Linked DNA regions of Homo sapiens: region 2 is linked to region 1. Evidence: promoter capture Hi-C in human tissues and cell types (Jung and others, 2019). All regions are on one chromosome and are shown on one strand. The core of a region is centred on a gene start or on the middle of the fragment in contact, and the rest is flanking DNA. Distances in the headings are between cores, read along the strand shown. Region 1 holds the start of DCST2 (DC-STAMP domain containing 2). Region 2 has its middle 13 kb from the start of EFNA3.

Evidence for each region. The method cuts DNA at HindIII sites, captures the fragments that hold promoters and counts their contacts. A contact is called where the count stands out against the background at its distance.
Region 2: a fragment that was not itself captured here is called in contact with the fragment with the promoter of DCST2 in region 1 in 1 of the 25 tissues and cell types used here (adrenal gland).

Annotation. Positions count from the first base shown.
Region 1 is chr1:155,029,851-155,036,434 of GRCh38, reverse strand. DCST2 (DC-STAMP domain containing 2) reads left to right here and starts at 2,654. Exons shown (of 15, transcript NM_144622.3): 1 at 2,654-3,001; 2 at 3,171-3,341; 3 at 3,667-3,768; 4 at 4,664-4,861; 5 at 5,201-5,266; 6 at 5,790-6,003; 7 at 6,194-6,351. The coding sequence starts at 2,734. DCST1 (DC-STAMP domain containing 1) reads right to left here and starts at 2,611. Exons shown (of 17, transcript NM_152494.4): 1 at 2,581-2,611; 2 at 2,338-2,463; 3 at 1,875-2,000; 4 at 1,708-1,782. The coding sequence starts at 2,398. The HindIII fragment of the contact is 8,066 bases long and covers 59-6,584 here.
Region 2 is chr1:155,088,646-155,095,229 of GRCh38, reverse strand. No RefSeq gene overlaps it. Among named protein-coding and RNA genes, the nearest start is that of EFNA3, 13 kb to the right of the region's middle. RefSeq lists an enhancer at 1,098-1,712. The HindIII fragment of the contact is 5,721 bases long and covers 1-5,277 here.

The DNA of each region.
Region 1 (6,584 bases), core at 1,405-3,904:
TGTAGAGTGGACTGGACCTCTTTAACCCCTAAAAATAAGTCTTAATTGTTGAAGTAGGACTAGGTCTTCTAAAGAAATACAACCAGAAATCTAAGGGGCTGTGTGAAAGGTTATCAATGGGAAAAAACATGTTTGAATACAGTGGGTCAGAGAAAAAGTAGTCTCCTGTTGGTATCCAGCAGGATTAATTCAATAAACAGGTGATGAAATGCTAATTCTATTTCCCTTGCCTGGGACAGGTTCAGGAAAGGGCATGTGTTGCACGCAGTTCTGACCAAAGAGATGTGAGGAAGTCTACTGTGGGGATTATAGGCAAGTTTCCCTTGTTCCTAAAAAGAGACATGAGGAAAGGATGTTTCTTCCTTTTTTTTTTTTTTTTTTTTTTTTGAGACAGAGTTTCACTCTGTCACCTAGGTCATTTTCCTTTTTCCCTGGCCTCAAATCGCACAGCCCAAGACAGTGAAGTTGGGCCTGGGATTGAACTTCTATTCTTTTCTTTTTTTTGAGATGGCCTTTCGCTCTTGTCACCCAGGCTGGAGTGCAGTGGCACGATCTCCACTCACTGCAATCTCTGCCTCCTGGGTTCAAGCAAGCCTCCTGCCTCAGCCTCCCAAGAAGCTGGGACTACAGGTGTGCACCACCACATCCGGCTAATTTTTGTATTTTTAGTGGAGACAGGGTTTCACCATGTTGGCCAGGCTGGTCTCAAACTCCTGACCTCAGGTGATCCACCCGCCTCAGCCTCCCAAAGTGCTGGGATTACAGGCGTGAGCCATTGTGCCTGGCCTGTTTCTTCCTCTTTTTTTATTTTTTTCTGATCTTTGATATTATTGTATGAAGATGTGATGCCAGAGTTGCTGCAGCTATCTTGTGACCTGAAGAGAAGTGGTCAATAGACTGAAGATGGCAGAGAAAAGACAGAAGGAACCTGAGTCCTTCTCGAAGCTACTGAGCTGTTAAATTATCCAAACTGGGCTGGGCACGGTGGCTTACACCTGTAATCCCAGAACTTTGGGAGGCCGAGGCAGGTAGATCTTTTGAGGTCAGAAGTTCGAGACCTGCCTGGCCAACATACAGAAACCCCGTCTCTACTAAAAATACAAAAATTAGCTGGGCATGGTGATGGGTGCCTGTAATCCCAGCTACTTGGGAGGCTGAGCAGGAGAATGGCTTGAACCTGGGAGGTGGAGGTTGCAGTGAGCTGAGATTGAGCCACTGCACTCCAGCCTGGGCAACAGAGCGAGACTCCGTCTCAAAACGAAAACAAAAACATACAAACAAAACCAAAGCAAAACGGCTGGATGCTTGTCATCCTTGTTTACTGCTAAATCCTCAGCAGATTCTCAGTAAGTGCTGAGTGAATGAATGAATGAATGAATGAATTTAATTTCTTAGGAGGATCAGAAAACGAGGTCAGACAGGTCAGGAGAGATGAGAGTTATGAAGGGTTATGGGGTTGGACTATATCATGTGGGTGATGGGGAGTCCCTCGGAATGGAGAGACTCCCTCAGGGCAAGGACGGTGTCTTCCTTCTTAAATTGGCAGCCTCTTCCCTCTGGACCTCCCCGTAAAGCCCAGGAGGAGGCGGAAGCCACAGGGGATGTATGGGTACAGAAGAAACAAGTCCCGACTCCTTCCTGGGCATGCAGGACGGCGCTGTGTTCCACAGGCCGCTTGAGTGTTCCTGGCTTTTGCCCAGCACTAACCCACCAAGCTGTACAAGAACATAATCTTCTGTTCTTCGTAGATGTTCATGGGGTTCACCAGGAGCTGAAAGAGACCTAAGGGCACAAGGTCAAGCCAAAGGCCAAAAGATGGGTCCTAGCCCTGGTCCAGCCTCTGCCCACCCCGAACTTTCTGCTTCCACACTCACCTATGGCCAGGAGCCCCCCAGCGCCTGCCCCCAGCAGGAGAGCAGTGACAGGAAACTCGCCCGGCTGGCGCCACAGGAACCAGCTACAGGAGACTGGCAGCCCCCAGGTCAGGAGCCTCTGCACCGCTAAGAGGGGGACAGGGTAGCTCAACAGCCCACTCTTCTGCCTGGGATGGGGCTCATTAGGATTCAGGGCTTGCAGGTGGATAGAGGCTGGGGAAACCTGGCATGTGAAACAGTAGGAACTTAGGGGACCCTGGAGGAGGATGAGGGAGCCTGAGGAAGTGGTATGGGTGTAAGGGACAGCAAAGGCAAGGGCTGGGCTGGGAGGCGGGAGGCACTAGACCAGAGAGGTGGTGGAGGCGCGGACACCGAGTTGGGGGATAGTGTGCAGGAGTTCCAGGAGGAGAGATGGGATGAGAGTGGAGGTCAAGGGATACTGGGTCTCTGCTGAGTGACTCACTGGTATGAGGCTGTTTTCTTCTTTGCCCTCTTGTGCCATTCTGATGATGTTTAATGTCCATGAGTCTGTTTTGGGGAAGCACCACTCATCCCAGGTCTCCTGAAGGACCTCCTTGGACACAAGGTTCTGGTGAGAGAAGAGAGGTGCTGCCTGTCTCTTCCGCTTCATGGGAAGCCTAGGCCTGAGCTCTGGGCCTTTTAATCCTTCTGCTCCGAGAAGTGGGGAAGGAGATTAGAGACCTACCTATCCCCTCTCCAGTCCTCGGAACTGGGTCAAGGATTCCAAGACATATGCAGTGAAAGCCCTTTGGAACCTTAGAATACGGTGAGAAATTCCAGGAGCACAGAAGTCAGCGGGCATCTCCTGGAGACAGGCAGACATTTGGTCTCAGCAGCCATGCCCAAAGTCATGAAGGATGTTGTGCACCCCTTGGGGGGAGAGGAGCCTAGCATGGCGAGAGCTGTGGTTCGCAGCGTGGGAGGTTTTACCCTGGGCTTGTCTTTAGCCACGGCCTACGGGCTTCTGGAGCTACTGGTGGAAGGCCACAGCCCCTGGGGTTGCCTGGTGGGCACCCTCACTTTGGCTGCCTTCCTTAGCCTGGGCATGGGATTCTCTCGCCAGGTCCGAGCCACTGTCCTCCTGCTGCTGCCTCAGGCCTTCTCCAGTGAGCTTGGCACCCAGGGCTAGGGGGCAGGTCCTGGGGCTGGTGCTGGGGCAGAAGAGATGCTGGAGGAGAGGCAGGGGTTAAGGGAAATATTCTGAAGGCTTATGTAAGGGACTTGCTGCCATGTTTGGGGCTGGGGTCTTGGTTCTAACAAAGCTGTCGCCCCCAGGGCAGGGCCGGACACTACTGTTGGTGGCTGCTTTTGGGTTGGTGCTTCAAGGGCCTTGTGCCAACACTCTACGCAACTTCACCCGGGCCAGCGAGGCTGTAGCCTGTGGGGCAGAGCTGGCCCTGAACCAGACCGCCGAAGTGCTACAGAGGGCCAAGCAACCTCTTGTCAGTAAGTCCCCCACCTCTACCACTGTCTCCCACGGGCCCCCCTCGCCCCCCTCATCCTGCATGTTCTACAGTCCTTTGGCCTCCTTCTCTGCTGGTGCTAATCGCGGAGCATCTGGGCCTGGAAGGGACTCTGGGCACAGCTAAACCCTCTCTCCTTGCTCTCTGGCCTCCTCCACTCCCAGATTAACGATCTCCCAGGCCCCAGAATCCAGGCTTCCCGCCTCTGGAAATGGTGGCCTCCTCTCTACTCCCTGCTTAAGGGGCAATGGTGAGAACCAGCCCCTAGAGGAGAAGACTCCAAAGTGCCTCTGTCCCTCACCCATCAGGTGCCCTGAACAAGATTAAAGCTATTGCCCGGAAGACCAAAGAGGTGGCTGACCGGGTCCGCAAGTTCTTTCGGTCAATCATGGATGGTGTGAAACACATAGGTAAGCACATTAGCATGTCTATCCCGGGGACTCAAAATGCACCCAGTCCTGGCCGGGTGCGGTGGCTCATGCCTGTAATCCCAGCACTTTGCGAGGCCGAGGTGGGAGAATCACTTGAGCCCAGGAGTTTGAGACCAGCCTTGGCAACATGGCGAGACCCTGTCTCTATAAAAAATAAAAAAATAGAAAATAAATAAAACTAGCCAGATGTAATGACACATGTCTGTAGTCCCAGCTACTGGGGAGGCTATGGTGGAAGGATCTCTTGAACCCAGGGGTTTGAGGCTGCAGTGAGCTATGATCGTGCCACTGTACTCCAATCCAGCCTGGGTGACAGTGTGAGACTCCATCTCTAAAGAAAAAAAAAAGCGGGGGGGCCAGGTGCGGTGGCTCACACCTGTAATCCCAGCACTTTGGGAGGCTGAGGCGGTGGATCAGGAGGTCAGGAGATCAAGACCATCCTGGCTGACATCGTGAAACCCCGTCTCTACTAAAAATACAAAAAGTTAGCCGGGCGTGGTGGCACGCAGCTGTAGTCCCAGCTACTCAGGAGGCTGAGGCAGGAGAATCTCTTGAACCCAGGAGGCGGAGGTTGCAATGAGCCGAGATCACTCCACTGCACTCTAGCCTGGGCAACAAGAGCGAAACTCCATCTCAAAACAAAACAAAACAAAACAAACAAACAGAAACAAAAAAATTCAGTCTCCTCACCTGTACCCTGTCCAGGGTTTTTTGGGCCCCTTCTGGGCGCTGGCTAGTGTTCACTGGACACAGCACAGCCAGGTCCCTGACCACAGGCCTCTCCAGCCCTGGATACTGTGGTATTGTTCCCCAAAACCCTGAGAAGAGGCTGTAGGATTCCAGCCCTGGGTGCCAACCCTGCAGCTGTCCCCAGCCAGGGCTCTCCGGAATGTGTGGCAGTGGCTCCTGCACATCGGCGATGTGTGCAACTCGGAACTGGGCAACCCTTACCTGAAGTGTGCACGGGTTTTCGATGATGCCAAGGACAGCTGCATGATGGTCATACCACAAGCCTACCACCTGTGTTACGTGCTCATGCCCTTCAAACTGGCGCTCTGTGGACTTGCCAGCCGTGAGAAAACCAGGGTCTGCCAGCGGGGAGGAGCCGATGTGGGGTGGGGTGGGGTGGGAATGTGGGGGTCAGTTGGGAGGGCAGGCTCAGGAGGACGATTAGAGGGCAACAGAGAGGAACCAATAAGCTTGGTAGGACCAGTATTGGGGGTGGGGGTGGGCAGTAGGGAGGGACTGGTGTTGGGAGAGAAGGGCGACAGGGAGGTGCTACAAGGTTTTGAGCAAATGTGGAGGCCAATAGGAAAATCGAAAAGAGGCCCTGTGAGAAGAGGTCTCCAGAGGTCGGGGGCAGGCCTGGCTGTGCCCCTCCTTCCGACACTCAGCCGACTCCGCCCCTCAGTGGTCCAGGTGTTCTGCGTCATCCCTAAGTACATTCAACCCTTCTTGCGCCAGACCATCGGCACCCGTGAGTGACCCCCTCCTGCCACATATGGTGCTCCCTAGTGGTCTCCCTCCCTCATCCCGGTGTGGCCATGGCCAGCCCCCAGTGCTCCCAGCCCATAAAGGAGAATGTAAGAGAAAGAAAGGGGCTCAAGTGATCACCCAGGCCCATATCCATGCTGTACAGATCAGGAAACGGGTCCAGCGAAGGGCCAGTGCCTCACCACAGCCTGCCCTGAGAGCAGGAGCTGGGAACAGAACCAGGGCCTCCTGTCCACATTCAGGTCCACACTCAGGTCATCAAGATCATTCCTTAGGGGCATCTGTTGCATGCCCTGTGTCATGCTGGGTGCTGAGCATGTGATGGCGATGGCACAGATACGTGGAGGCTTTGTCCCCTCCTCAGTCCACCTTGACCCAAGCACTGGGGGGTTCCCAGCTGGTCTGTAAGCTGCGCCCCCTGGGCTGTGCCAGGCCCCTCCCCAGGGGCAGCTCCACCCTCTCCTAACTCTCCTTGCCCACGTCTCCCCTGAACCTGCTGGCCCCAGCCGTGATTCAGTTGCTCAACCGGGTGCGTCAGGAGTTTGAGTTCAACATGACAGCCACCCACCACTTCTCTGTGGATCTCAATGCCTCTCGGAGCCTGTCCCAGGTAGCCATGGACCTCCACGAGGCTGTCAGCATGAAGCTGCACCGTGTCCGAGAGGCCCTGGCTCTGATGGGCTTCACCACGCCTCTGCTGCTTGTGCTTCTCTACCTCCAGTGAGGGGCTGCCGGGCAGCGTGGGGGATGCAGGGCCGGGGGTGCAGGGCCAGGGCTGCAGGGAGCAGCTCATTTCTCCCTGCCCCAGCATCCAGGGAGGTTGAAGTTGTGGGGTTGAAGCGCGGATGCCCTGTGGGGTCTGGCCTGGGGTCCTAAGGGGCCTCACATGTGCTCCACCTCCCCTTCCCAGAGCCCTATTTTACCGGTATTGTTACCTGAACTGGGACCATTATGACAATATCTACATCACTAGCCGATTCCTGCGCATGGAGGCTGTGCGCTCCACGGCAGGGCTGCCCACAGTGCTACCGCTCAGTGCTCACGAGGCCAGGCGCTACATCCCACCGGGTGAGGGCCCTGAGGACAGGGAGAGCCCAAGCCAGGGAGGCCAGGGCTTCCCCCCACCCCGCTGCCCTGCCCCTAAGCCCCTGCACAGGCAGGGCTCAGGATGGGCTTGGGGCAGGGGCCAGAGGGAGGAGACACAACCCAGAGCTTAAGGAACTTTCAGGCTGAGGGAAGACACTGCCCGGTCCTTGGGGAGCCCGCAGTCTGAAAGGGGGAACATAGACACCCTTGGAGAA
Region 2 (6,584 bases), core at 1,168-3,667, 59 kb before region 1:
AAAAACTGTCAACCTAGAATTCAGTGGAGATATCTTTCAAATAGGAAGATGGAATAAAGATGCATTCAGACATTCCAAAATTGAAAGAATTCATCATCAGTAGACCTGCACTAGAAGAACGGCTTTAAAAAGTCCTTCAAGCAGAAGAAAAATGATACCAGATGGAAATCTCCGTCTACACAAAGGAATGAAGAGAGCTGGAAATGGTAAATATGTGGGTAGATAGAAAAGATATTTTTCTGATTTTAAAATTCTCTTTAAAAGATACTTGAGGGTTTAGAGCAAATCTAATAATGTATTGTGGGGCTTATAGCATGTGTAGAAATAAATCCATGGTGACAATAGCACAAAGGCGGAGAGGTGGGGAATGGGAGGAAGGTGTTTGCGCTGAGTGGTGTGATATTACTTGATGGAGATAGACTATAAGTTAAAGAAGCATTGTGTAATCCTAAAAGAACCACAAAAAAATGTAAGTGTAGTATTATGAACCAATAAAGGAGATAAAATGAAGATCACAAGGGGTGTGCTGGCCACCCCCTTGGCACACAGAACAGTTGGGTGGAGTTCCCCAGCCCAGCAGGGTCCCATAGAGCCTCTGTAGGTGTTTGGGATAGAATGAGTACCGTCAGAAAGAAACTTCCTCTCCTGCCACCTTCTGGCAGTAAATCCAGCCTATTTTTAACTCAGGCCTCTGCTTAAGTGCTTTTGGCTAAAAGAGAATTGCTGCTTCTAAGAATCTCAGGCAGCCACAGTCTCCTCGGCTTCTCTGCTCGCTCCAGCCCTAGAAGGCTCAGGGACTGCTCAGATGTCCCCGGCTTCCCAACCACTTGTCCCAGGAGAGGAGGCTCCCTCAACTCTGGGTGCTCACTGTGGGCACCCACAGACAGGCAGCCCTTCAGCAGGGTGCAGGTGTGAGAGGATCTCTAAGGGATGTCATCTCATGGAGACTGCGGGGATGGTGCCACGGAGTGGTGTGAGGGCAGCCTGGAGCGAACAAACTGCAGAGTGTTGCTCCAGGAGGGTGCACATGTGTACAAAGGCGCCCTGTGTGAAAAGGGCGTGCTCTGTTGTGAGTGTGAATGTTTTTGTGACTGCTTATGCTGTGAAACATAAACACAGCAGCCTCCGTCCTTTTGATCATGCTGCCCCCTCTGCTGGCCTGTCTCCCCTCGTAGTCCCTCCCAGCCAACACCCACACCCTAGCTGGCAAACTGCCAATCATCCCTCAAGCCTCTCATCTCTCCCAAAGTCTTCCCTGACAACTCTGGCCAGAGGCCCAGCCAAATGGCCGCCAGACTCGGGGTTGTATACCCAGGGGTTAGCATGATGCCTGCTGTGTGCTTAGCCTGCAAGGAGGGAGGAAGGCTCTTAAGGCCTCTTTTGGGGGCCGTATTAGGAGGGCACTGAGAATATTTGCTTTTTCCACTGTCAGACCAGGTCCTGCCAGGCCCTGAAGGGCACCCAAGTGACAAGCCTGGGGTCACAGAGGGATGCGAGGGTCACCCTCCATGCCCAGTGTGCTTAATGGTGCAGAGAGGCCAGGCCTGGGGTCTGTGCCCAGAGTGGGCAGTGCTGGTGTCCAGGTGGTCAGATATGGGCATGGCCCCACGTGGAGTTGGACAGCCTCTGTTGATTTCTCCTCAGGGCTCTCCCTGGAGGCTCAAGGTCTGGCATCTGTGTATGTGTGTGTGTGTGTGTGTGTGTGTGTGTGTGTGTGTGTGTGTGTGCAGGCATGTCTGTGGTGTGGGAAGAGGGCTTTCTCCTGTCTCAAGCTTAGCTCTTACTCTTCCCAGCCCCCTCTGCTCCCCACCATTGTCTTCTCCTTCACCAGCACAAGGCAGGAGTGGGTAGGAGGTTCCCAAGGTCCCTGGGAAGAATGTGGTGGGCACTGCGTGTGATGTTGGGTGTGGGCACGTATCTGTGGGTGCACATATGGATGTGATTGAGAAGCCCCTGCCTCTCCTTGTGTTTGTGTATGTGTCTGGGTATATCCTTGGGGTCCTAGAGGTTGTTTTTGTGTCTCCTGTGGCTGTTGAAATGACCTATCGGTTTCCAGAGGGTGTGAATGTGGCTCTGATCTACCCCCTCCCACCTCCTCCCTCTTCTGATTTTCTTGACTCTAGGGTTTGCCCAGTTGGCTTGGCTGGGATTGTCATTGGGTCCGTGTTAGAGAATTGTATCATCTGTTGAATGCCAGCCCTCAAGTGTGTCACCGTATGTGACCCTGGATGCAAGCGCGGCTCAGGGTACCTGGGAGCCCCTTGCCCTGTGTGGGGTCTGGTGCCTGCGTGAGTGTGTTATAGACAGTGGGGCGTTAGTATGTGCCTAATACCCATGAATGGCTTGAGTGTGACGGCCGCAAAACGGGTCGAATGTGCACACATGGATGTGTGTGCAAGTGATGGATGAGTGTGTGTGCGTGTTCCCTCCTGTGGGTGCCTGGACTGGTCCCTCAGTCCCGTGGGGGGCCTCTCCCACTTCAGTGGTGTGAACAAAGCCCCTGCTTTCCTCCCTGCTTTGCCCCCCAGCCCCCTCTCCCTCAGCACCGAGTTTGATTGACTGTGTGTGGTTGCAAGGTTATGAGATTATATGATTGGTGTATGGCATATGAAGTGTATGCCATTGAATGTGAAACTCTAGTATCCCCTGGCCAATGCCAGCCTCTCAGAGGCAGGCTGGTGGACCTCCGGTCAGTTGAACCTAGCTCTCCCAGGTTCCTAGGCTGGCCCATCCATCCTTTTATAGCCAGGCTTGGCCCCTGTAATTACCTGGGGCCAGATGCTGTGGCGAAGGCCAAGAGTTTGGTGCTAACACTCTGGGGAGGAGTCATATCTGCCCCTCCCCCAGGCCACACCGGAGGAGACTGGAGGAGGCCAGACCTCTTTGGAGTCAGATCACAGGCCACATCACTAGGTTCAGCCTGAAGCTGCTCTGCTGCTCTGGGCCCAGTGTGTCTCTGGCTGACCTGGCCCCAGCACATCTGGGCTATCCCATCCGCGTCACACTTCCCCAGACTGTCGTCCACAGGCTGCAGACACCGAGCCTGTGTTCCCATCACCTCCCACCTGGACCCCTCTTGCCAGTCCATGCCCCCAACCCAGCTCATGCCCCTCGTTCCCCCCCTCCATATCCTCCCGCCCCCCTCATCCTAGTCCTTGTCTCCTGGTCCCAGCTTGTGTCCTTCATTCCAATCCATGGCCCCCCAGCCCCGTCACCACCACCTCCAGTCCACGCCTCTGTCCCTGCCACGTACCTCCAGCCCAGTCTGTATCCCTGGTTTGCCAGCTGGACGGAACATGGAGGTTGAGAGAGAATGGCGAGATTTGCGTGCCGAGTAGGTCTGGGCTGGACGGCTGTGGACTGAGCCCAAGTCCACTCCCAACCCCATGGCATCTACAACTAGGGGAGGAAAAGAAGAGAGTGGGGATAAGAGAAATGGACGGAGAGTGGGCTGGGCCTTAGCCCACCCTGCCCCAGGCCTGAGAACAGAGGGTCCTACGGCGCAGCTGCTTGAGTCCCCTCAAGGACCAACACCCGCTCCACCGACCGCAAACCCATCCCAAGCTCCCCTCACAGCTCCGGCGAGTCCCAGCCCAGGTGCTGCGCCACCTGGTGGATATCGGCAGACTTGCAGGCCCCGAGTGGCAAACCCACGTGGCAGCGAGGCTTAGACCCCAGCCGGGATTGTAAATAGCTCCTTCCCTGCTACCCACAGCGCTGCTGGAGTGACCTCTCACCCCGAAGGGAGGGGCGGGGCAGCTCTGAACTTTACTCTCCAAGCCAAAATCTCTGTTCAGTTGTTTGATGTTGCTGTTGTTTTTCACCCTGGGGAGGACGGGAAGAGGAGGGATGTGTGCGATCTCTACCTGTGTTGGGGGCATTAACCTGTGACAGCCTCTGGGAATGCCAGCGTGTCAGGTGGGAGCCCTCTTTGTGCCTGTGCTGGAGGGGGCCAACATGAGACAACACAAGGGTGAAGAAGACCCTGCCCAGGGTGAGGCTGCTCTGCCCTCAGGCCATACCACTGTGCCTGGTGACATCTTACCACTGCCTTGGCCAGGACGCCCTGGGCTCTGCAGACCTTGGTGTCACAAAGTAGGGCCCTGTACCAGACAGGCTCAGGGTCATTGGTGTCTGGCCATCTAAGTGCAGACCTCTCTCCCCAGTCTTCCTTACATGCTCTGGGATTGAAAGCCTCGCTGGACGGGAAAATCCTCAGCAGGGCTCCGCAGCTTTTAAAACTGATTTCATTTATTTATTATTTATTTAGATATTTATTTTTGAGAGACAGAGTCTCGTTCTGTCGCCCAGGATGGAGTGCAGTGGCTCGATCTCGACCCACTGGAACCTCCGCCTACCAGGTTCAAGCGATTCTCCTGCCTCAGCCTCCTGAGTAGTTGGGATTACAGACATGCACCACATGCCTGGCTAATTTTTGTATTTTTAGTAGATACTGGGTTTCGCCATGTTGTCCAGGATGGTCTCAAACTCCTGACCTCAAATGATCTGCCTGCCTTGGCCTCTCAAGTGCTGGGATTACAAGTGTGAGCCACAGTGCCTGCCAATTTACTTATTTATTTATTTTAAAGACAGGGTCAGCCGGGCGCGGTGGCTCATGCCTGTAATCCCAGCACTTTGGGAGGCTGAGGTGGGCGGATCACCTGAGGTTGGGAGTTCGAGACCAGCTTGACCAACATGGAGAAACCCTGTCTCTACTAAAAATACAAAATTAGCCAGGTGTGGTGGCACATGCCTGTAATCCCAGCTACTCGGGAGGCTGAGGCAGGAGAATCACTTGAACTCAGGAGGTGGAGGTTGCGGTGAGATGAGATCACACCATTGCACTCCAGTCTGGGCAACAAGAGCAAAACTCCACCTCAAAAAAAAGAGTCAGGGTCTTGCTCTTGCTCTGTCGCCCAGGCTGGAGTACAGTGGTGTGATCATAGCACATTGCAGCCTTGCTCTCCTGGGCTCAAGCAATTCTCCCGTCTCAGCCTCCTGAGTAGCTAAAACTACAGGTGCATGCCACCACGCCTAGCTTTTTTTTTTTTTTTTTTTTTTTGTAGAAATAGGGTCTCACTATTTTGCCCTGGCTGGTCTTGAACTCCTGGGCTCAAGCGATCCTCTCACCTCAGTCTTCCCAGTAGCTGGGACTAAAGGTTTGTCACCACACCTGGATATTTTTTTTATTTTTTGTAGAGATGGAGTCTTCCTATGTTGCCCAGGCCGGTCTCAAACTCCTGGGCTCAAGTGATCCTCCTACCTCAGCCTCCCAAAATGCTGGGATTAGAGGCCTGAGCTACTGTGCCTGGCCATTTGTTTTGTTTTTGTTTTTGTTTTTTTAAAGATGGGGTCGGCTGGGCACACTGGCTCACGCCTGTAATCCCAGCACTTTGGGAGGCTGAGGCGGGCAGATCACCTGAGGTCGGGAGTTCAAGAACAGCCTGGCCAACATGGCAAAACCCCATCTCTACTGAAAATACAAAAATTAGACAGGCGTGGTGGCATGCACCTGTAATCCCAGCTACTCAGGAGGCTGAGGCAGGAGAATCACTTGAACCCAGGAGGCGGGGGTTGCAGTGAGCTGAGATGGTGCCACTGCACCCCAGCCTGGGCGACTGAGTGAGATTCTGTCTCAAAAAAAATAAAAATAAAAATAAAAGATGGGGTCTTGCTATATTACCTGGGCTGGCATTAAACTCCAGAGGTCAAGCGGTCCTCCCACCTCAGCCTCCTGTTAGACCCACTTTGAATGCCAGCCCTATCATTAGCCAGGCTGTGTGGCCCTAAGTCTTAGATCCTCATCTGTGTTATTGGAATAGTGAGGCTTACAAAGGCGCAGCACTCGGCACATAGGAGGTGCTCAGTGAATGGAAGCTGGCTTATTCTAGTTACTGCCCAAAGTGCTTGGCCCTTTCAGTCTTACTATTCCAGAATTTTTGAATCTGCAAGGCCCTCCCCCATCCCATCTGGCCAGCCCCTATCCTGCCTGGCCCGGGGAATTGAAGCAAGCCTGCAGCCCAGGCCCACTACTATGGGTCCTCGAGATTCTCCCCAACAGTACCCGACCCCGCTCTGTGTATCTCCTCCTGTCTGAAGCCTCTTTCCTCTGTCCCTAGGCAAGTGTGTGCTTTTTCTTGGCATTCCCACAGCTCCCAGGCATTTACCCACGAAAGAGCTGGTTATGTTGTCAGTTATGTATGTGTGTGTTACCAATTTCTGCTCATACATCAACACATACTAAAGTATGAGCTTATTTTGGGGTAGAGACTATATCTTGTGTCTCCAATACCCAGGATAGAGCCTGGCACTCGGCAGGTGCTCGATAAATGTGGATTGAATGCATGGACGATTGGATGGATAGGCCCACCTTTTCTGTCTTATCAGTCTGTAGGGAGTCTCAGACTGGTCTAGTGGCTGCCCCCAGTTCTTTCCCCACCTGCTCTCCCACCCCACACTCTTCCCTGTTCCGCTATTGGGAAACCCACCCACTCTGCAGAGTCTAGCTCAGATTCCATTTTCCATGTTTTATGGGTAGAGAGGAGCAGAAAACACAGTCCTTACCACCAAGGGCTCATTCTCAC